Linked DNA regions of Homo sapiens: all the other regions are linked to region 2. The links are contacts of gene promoters, found by promoter capture Hi-C in blood cells and fetal thymus (Javierre and others, 2016). All regions are on one chromosome and are shown on one strand. Each heading gives the region's core, a stretch centred on a gene start or on the middle of the fragment in contact. The rest is flanking DNA. Distances are from core to core; before and after follow the strand shown.

Region 1 (2,700 bases), core at 41-2,540, 970 kb before region 2:
CCACTCCCACACTGTGGAGTATACTATAATTTTCAAATCATCCTTTCATTTCTTCCTGGAAAAAAAAAAAATAGTCTTCAGAGACTCAGCCCCAGCTGACAGCTTGACAGCTCTGACGGCAATCTCATGAGAGACTCTGAGCCAGAACCAAAATCAGCTGCCCCTGCATTCCTGAATGTGAGGAATTGTGTAAGAAAACATGTTTGTTCTTTTAAGCTGCTGAGTTTTATTGTAATTTGTTACTCAATGATTGATAACTAATATACCCATTATTTTTTATCAATAGATATTCATTCCAAACTTTTCTTGATAGCAGTAACCTCTTATTGTAGTTGAGGTGGCATGGTAAAATAGAAATAAAAGTGTCTTAACTGTCTTTTTCTGTAACAGATCAGTGTACTCTGAAGTGCATCTGAATCTAAAAGGATGCATTTTCTTCAATGAGAACGCAAAGTAGAAAGTAGCTTGATGGCAATTGCTACCTGCTATTGGGAAAGTCTGAAATGGTCACTAATATTACTAAGTGGCCTGTTAATTCAATTACAGAAGAGAAAAATGTCACAAACCATTGCACCGTAGTCACCAGGCTATCACCCTAGAAAGATCAGTGCAGTTATAATAATAATTTTGAAATAGCAAAAGGGAGAATGAAGAGATTAGAAAGCAAATGCATATAAGTTATATCTAGAAAGTTGTACTAATACTTCATGATTGCTAATTTAATCAAAATTAAATTTTTCCAAATTCTCAATATTAACAATTGATTTATTGATCACTGAGAGACCAATGATGCAATTTCTCTTTTGAGCTGATTTGATCACTAGTTAAAACCTAAGGAAGACAAACAGTGACAGTGATGTAGTATTATAAGCTGCAATTCTCAATACCAACAGAAAAAAAAAGAAAAATCAATTAAAAACATGGTTATTAATTTAGCCATTGGAAAAACTGGGGATGATTTGGGTAAGAGAAAAGACTACCAAATAAAAATTTAAAAGTTTATGGATAAAAGGAAGAATGAAGCTTAGGGTATGTAAAAACAAAGTTTTATTATAATTAAGTGTAAATCTTCTCATAGAAAAAGGAAAAACAAAATTGAGGGAAAGTTAATGCAGATGGCCATTCTAAAGTGTTTTCTCTGTAAGTGCAAATCATATTCAAGCAAGCATGCAAGAGGTTAGTTCTACTCACTGTCAGAAGGTTTGCTATCGCTTAGGAAAGGTTGCTGTTCCATGATGTCCATTGGAATTTTAATACTTGGAACTTTTTCTGAGTATGGGCAGTCAGACTGTGAAAAAAATGTACAAGAGGTTTTAGAATGTTTTTATTATACAGCCCTTCCTATCTCCTAGCATCGATCAAACCGTTTTCTATAATCATTTACATACTACTAAGGAGAAAAGCCTTATAATTACTTCCAGTTTGCCATCTTTTAACTGCATTCCTTCTTTCCCCCTCACATTTGTTTTCCACTCTTCTAAGTTAATGGTATTGAGTCAATTAAAACTATAACTGCACAAAATAGAGATCGATCTACAACTGAATTGTAAAGCTTTCTATCAGACTCCCAATCAGCAATGTTTATGAGTTGTATGTGTGAAGCAAATGATCTCAATGCAAAAACAGATTAAACATAGGAAACTTCCCAGGTTATAATACGGTCTTGAAATTCTTGTTTTGTTTATGCTGATTCCGTCTCTAGATAAAATCATGACCGATCTTTCCTTCTAGAACAAGTGACAGACTTTTTATATATCCACTATCAAGAAGCCTTCTATGTACACTAGAAAATAAACTTTCCTCTCTTACTTTAAGTACTATTTTATGGATAAAGGTTCATTTCAATTAGCTTGTGCCAAAGATATCTGAAAATGTAAGCAAAACATAAGAAAATAAAATGTTTAAAAAGGTGTCTATGATGGTCAGATAAGCAGAGAATCATAATGGAAATGACAAAACCAGGCAGCTAATCATGGGACTGCTTAAAGAACAAGCCACCTAGCCCAAATTATAATAGATTTCCCAAAGATTACCACTTTGTTTTTTTTAAATGCATTATATTGATTCCAAGTCTATGTTTGGGCTGAAAGACCCAATATATCTCTTAATTAAAAGTACCAAAAAGATGGTTTTTAGTTGAAAATAAAATGAGAATTAATGTTAATAAAATCTTAACATAAAGCCTATTACCTACATGGAAAATTCCTTTATTTATGACTCTAAAGAGGTTAATGAACAACAGTATCCTTTTAGAGAACTAAGATAATGCATTCAACGAGCAAAAAAGAAAAAAAAATAAAGATGCCACACATAAACAATATTAATCTTAAATGTAAAGGGGCTAAATGCCCCAATTAAAAGACACAGACTGGCAAATTGGATAGAATCAAGACCCATCGGTGTGCTGTATTCAGGAGACCCATCTCACATGCAAAGACACACATAGGCTCAAAATAAAGGGATGGAGAAATATTTACCAAGCAAATGGAAAGAAAAAAAAAAGCAGTGGTTGCAATCCTACTCTCTGATAAAACAAATTTTAAACCAACAAAGATCAAAAAAGACAAAGAAGGGCATTACATAATGGTAAAGGGATCAATGTAACAAGAAGAGCTATAATTTTCACTAATTGTGCTCATAAATATTATATTATAGCTGTAACCCTCATGTCCCCGCATGACTCCCTATATCCATGGGCCC
Region 2 (2,700 bases), core at 112-2,611:
CTGGGATTACAGGCGTGAGCCACCGCACCCGGCTATCACTTACCGCTTTTGGATTGCAAGACTGACATCTGAGCAACTATGGCTTTTGACTCAATAGGACTAAACCACTGGATTAAATCAAGTGAGTCTATGCGTGGACTCTCAGTCCATATCCCTTCAGTGTTGTTTGGAGTTCGACAATCAATAACCTTTTCTGGGACACACTCTAAAGACTGACTTACCGGCACTGCAAAACTCATTTCCAGGAGGCATAGGATCAGTATCAGGTCCTTCATTTTGAAAAGTGGAATCTAAAACATAATTAAGTTGGAGAATTAAATCAGATGAATTTTTATTCAGAATGGTTAAAAGACAATTTTTGAAAATGAGCCTGAGTCTCTGCTCTTACAAAAACCACCGGGATAAAGGTTAGAAGAACAAAAACAAAAACTAAATGTTACTAAACAACCGATTTGTATGTAGTAGTTTCTGAAATAAATTAACAAGCAATTAAAAAATATCTAAGCACGTTTTAAATGGATCTACAGCCTAAATAAGTATGTAGGAACAACCTCCATCGATATTCTTTGTGATATATTTCATTTCATAAAGTGAATTATGAGTTTAAAAATCCTTCCCACTAAGTAAAATATTGGTCTATAAGGTATTATTCACAGAAGTTTATACTTTGCTTACCCTTTGGGACACATTTTGAAATGCATGTGAAATGTAATGCAACTAAGTCATTTTATAACAAACCTTTATTTGCAGGAATAGAGGGTACATCATTGCATGTTTAGGTAATCTACGTAACCATGACAAAATTTTTCTTTTCAAATGAGAGTAAATTGGCTATCTTAATTTTCTTTGATGTTAGTGGAAAATATGTCTCAAATTTAGCTTTCCTCTTCCTAAAATGAATTATCTTTTAAAATTTATTCTATAAATTCAAAAAGCTCTTTATTCTTACATGAATAGAGATCTGAATAGCCTAGAAATTTACTCATCTTCTAATATTAAAAAGAATTAGGCACTATAATCAAAAACATTAAAAAAAACACAATCTATAAATAAAAGTCTTTTTTTTTTTCTTAGTTGAATGGGTGTTAGGCATGTCATCTCTGGGACATGCTAATGGATTACAACAAGCAATAATTCAGCTACTGGTGACAAATGAAGATAAATCCTCTTTATAAAAGCTGTCAGGAGATAGGAAAAAAAGAATTTACAGGAAACACATGGAAATCATAAAATCCCATTTTACCTTAGATGCTGACATGCACTGTGCTCTCAGGGCCTGATGATGCCAACCAAGATAGTTCTAAGAAAAGAAGATTAAAATTTTTTTCAGGACTGTGCGTGGGACTTGCTCTGTACTTCTCATTCAGGGAAGATTAGAAACCTTTATTTAAAGTGCCAATCCACCAATCAAAGTGAAGCAAAATGGCGAGGGGTGGCGGGGGGGAGTTGGGGCGGGAATCTCTGCTCCTGCAATTAGTCCACACCCTTTTATTGCGTGCAGGGACATTGGCCCAGTAGGGTCTCATTATTTTTAATTGTACTGCAGCCCCTGTACTTATTCAGAGAACTTGATAGCAGGGAAGGCAGTAAAGGAATAATGGACATAGGCTCTGAAGACAATTATTTTGGTGAGCTGGGGAAAATATATGTAAAATAGGTGCAAAACAAAACCTGTTTTGTGCAGGTTTTATCTGCAGATAAAGCTAGTGACCCAATGCTAGCATTCTTCAGGTTTTCACCCTCCTGTTTGTTGTAGTAAAAGAGACTACTGTCCTTCCCCCCAGCACACACAGAGTTTAAAAGAAAACACTAAAATGTTAGATGGAAAATTAATGTGTGTGATTTCTTCCTTGAATTTCCTAGATATTTTCATATCTGGAGATAATTGATTAGAGATAGCCAAGCTTTTGTAAGAAACTACAGTTGGACCCTTTGCAAGAATCAGGTTTACTTCAGGTAAACGTTTGGTGCATTTTAAAAAAAATCTGTGGGGACGGGGACGTAAATCAGAACATTCTCTATGAACCAAATCAATGGGCACAAGTGTCAGTTCACTCTTCAGATAGACACATTCCCAGGCATTAGTATCAAGCCAGGTTAATAAGACATATTTCGATCACTTAAAAGGTTAACGTCAACACAGATTGGTTTTTCTCCGTGAACAGATAATATCTTGGATGTGGATTGAATATTAGCTGCTTTTGTTACTTCTCTGCCCATCCTTGTCTTTCCAAAGTTGTGATTTCAGATATGGTAGGGATAAGCATTTAAGATTAGTTCTGAAGAAGGGATGAGTCAGTACACTCTTTAGGGAAGTAGGGATCTTGTCAATTACAGGGAACATTGAGGAAGCTGGTATTTTGAGAGAAAGCTGTATCCATACCCAAATGTAGGCCTAACAGCTTCAAATAATGTTATCTTAGAAGCTGCTCCTGAAAACCTCTGTGTTCCACTGATACCAGAATTATCTTTAGGATGCAAAGAAATGAAGAATGTGAATGTGTTTTGCAAACAGCAAAATGTTATTGAAATGAAAAGTATTATTTTTCATGCTGTCTCTGGTGCTTGATGCAGTCCCTTAATCTCTTTTGAGCCCCAGTTCCTTCTTCTGTTATGTAAGGATAATAATTAATGACCACAAGCTAGTCTTTTTTTTTTTTGAGACGGAGTCTCGCTGTGTTGCCCAGGCTGGAGTGCAGT
Region 3 (2,700 bases), core at 41-2,540, 660 kb before region 2:
TTAAATTATATTTACCCAAATCTGCATAGTACATTTGATCAAATCATTTAATAGACAGTCTATATGGGTGGATAAGATGCTAAGGTAAGATTACTGGCTAGGAAGTGTCATCATGGTCAATCTAATGAAAGAGTTAGGCCAGTTCAGAGAGTGAGCCATCAAACCCTGGAGAGAAATGCACTTGACTTTTTGGAACCTACTTTGAGTTGTCATTATCACATAAGTGGTGCCATTTTGTTCACATCGTGATGATAGGCATCCTCTCAGCAACAGATTCTGTCTATCCCCATTTCCTCCAACTCCTCCTTCTTGGTTTTCCCTGTGCACTTCCACACAGGTGTGGGAGCGTTCAGAATTGACACTGCACTGTGAAGTGCTATGGTGCCCAGAGGTCAAGCAGAAATGTTGTTCCTCTCAAGACATGCCAAATTTTAGGCATTTTAAAATCACCTTTACTGGGGTGTAATTTATAAACAATAAAATCCACTCATTTTAATGATACAGTCAATGATTTTAGTATATTTACAGAGTTGTGCAACGATCATCATAATCCAATTTTAGAACATTTCCACCAATCCAAAAAGATCCCTCATATCCATTTGCAGTCACTCTCTGTTCCCACTCCTGTCTAATGCAACCACTCTTGACCACGTTTTAAAACTCTTAGTGATGGCCTCTGCGAAGCTACCATTCTCTAGTACTCATATGGCAATGAACTTTTTGTAGACATCCTTACAGCACAATAAAATACAATATTCCCTGGATGAGGAAGATATTGCCTTCCAACAACTGCCAGAGGAAATCAAGCCACTGAGCTGAGCAATTCAAAACTTAAAGCATCCTCCTCCTCTCACATGTGATTGGTAACTAAATTTTCCTTTTCTGTCTTGTGTTCAGGTAGAGGACAAGGAACATAGTTCCATGGTTAAGCAAACCTTGAGGGGCTCAGGGACAGTGCTTTCTGCTCCATCAGTTACTTCTCAGCCTCTCTCACTTCAGCTTCCTTGCCTATAAGAAGAGAGCAAGATAGCCTTGCTTTGGTGGATGGGGTAATACAGACATGCTGTCTCAAAGGGACAATCAAATACTTAATAAGCTATATGTGCCAAGTAACCAAAACACCGAAAGTAAAATGAGCTGTAATGGAAGCTTTCTCACTGCCCCCACAGAATATCTGTCATCATGATCAATAGAAGCATCATTACTGTTGAAAATATGCTATGATTGATGAGAACATCACATGTGGATCTCAATATTTATTTTCATTAAAATCTCTTTACCTGTTTAAGGGATATGTCATGAAGACTGATGACTATTTTTAAAATTATAACTCATAAAATGACTGCAAGTTCTTAGGGGAGTCACAAAGCTGAGGATATAGTATTGTTTTCCCTGTAATATGAAAAGGAGAAACTTGACAGACAAGCTTTCCAACCCAGCAAGGGACTACAAAACAGTAAGACCATTAAAGAATCAGGGATAGTTAACCTGCTTCTTATACAGAACTTTTTAGGCTAAAAAAAAATTCTCCACTAGAAAACTCAGGAAATACTGCTTCCAAAGATAATGTAAAAAGGAGGAGTGGAAAAAATTTTAAGAGCTATAATGTATGAGGAAGAAGTGATCGTTTTAAATGTTATCAAAATAAATGTTACATTCTTGCTACTGAAACTTCATGAAGTAAAACTACTGGAATCTACATTTGACAGTGTTCATTTAGGTGTGCTGTCAAAGAGCATTCAGTCCTTGATTTGGCAGTGGCTTCAGTATCATGTGTTCAAATAAATACCCTGCATGCCTTTCTCTGACAGATGGTGCAAGTTCCCAACAAACTCTAAATATCTTGGGAATATCTCCCAATCCGTACCACAGCCAGTACTACTGGAAAGAAAACATGGCTTTCCTGGGTATCTCTGAATGTCAGAAATGATCACTACGTGATTCTTGTTTCTTCCCATCCTTACATGCTCCACCCCAGTTGCAAGTAGGAAGTACTATGATGTTAACTCATCCAATTATCCCAATTCCTGAAATATTTCTAACCTAACTTCATACTTCTCATAGTTGCTACAATGTTTTCTGGCAAACAAAAAACTTACACTTAGTAACTCTGGAGCCATTCAAATTAAGGTGGCTTTCACAAATACACATTTTGCTACCAAGGATGATTTAACACTTTGAAGTATGAAAACCTTCAAGCCAGAAAAGGGTTTTAGATCAGCCAAACTACAAATTCTATAGCTGAGTGGATGGTTAACAACATATGCCTCTATATGTAAGATACATCTATTAGCTCCTTCCTGGGAAACATGTTGCTGTGTTTACTGTACATACAGATGATAGCAACTATTTAGTGAATACTTACAAGCATGCCAAGCACTGCGAGGTGTTTTATATCTACCTCCTCATGCAATCCTGCTCCTATCCCCATTGTACAGGTGCAAAAACCACAGTTTGAGGAAGCCAAGGACATTATAACCATTTAACTTTGTATGAAGTGTTCTCTTCATAAAACCCCACAGGAGAAATATGTCTCTGTTCTCAGTATCAAGACTAGTACAGTGCTTCATCACTACTTTGATGGTGTGTTCTGTAAAACATACTATATTTATATCATAAATTTAATAACTTATTATGTCACCTTCCTCATTGGCTGCTAACAAGAGAATAGACAAATTTTAGGCAAACCCGTAGTGAGCA

What was found. Contacts are between HindIII fragments. The CHiCAGO score rates a contact against its expected background, and 5 or more counts as called.
Region 1: a fragment that was not itself captured here is called in contact with the fragment with the promoter of AMBN in region 2 in 1 of 17 cell types (fetal thymus); the score reaches 5.1 in fetal thymus.
Region 3: a contact is called between a fragment that was not itself captured here and the fragment with the promoter of AMBN in region 2, in 1 of 17 cell types (fetal thymus). The highest score is 5.3, in fetal thymus.

What each region holds. Positions count from the first base shown.
Region 1 is chr4:71,562,381-71,565,080 of GRCh38, reverse strand. SLC4A4 (solute carrier family 4 member 4) reads right to left here. Exons shown (of 26, transcript NM_001098484.3): 24 at 1,192-1,288. Among named protein-coding and RNA genes, the nearest start is that of GC, 220 kb to the left of the region's middle. The HindIII fragment of the contact is 529 bases long and covers 1,026-1,554 here.
Region 2 is chr4:70,590,917-70,593,616 of GRCh38, reverse strand. AMBN (ameloblastin) reads right to left here and starts at 1,361. Exons shown (of 13, transcript NM_016519.6): 1 at 1,244-1,361; 2 at 222-290. The coding sequence starts at 1,258. The HindIII fragment of the contact is 2,262 bases long and covers 1-1,906 here.
Region 3 is chr4:71,250,667-71,253,366 of GRCh38, reverse strand. The region is part of intron 2 of SLC4A4 (solute carrier family 4 member 4); the gene reads right to left. Among named protein-coding and RNA genes, the nearest start is that of SLC4A4, 65 kb to the right of the region's middle. The HindIII fragment of the contact is 277 bases long and covers 1,152-1,428 here.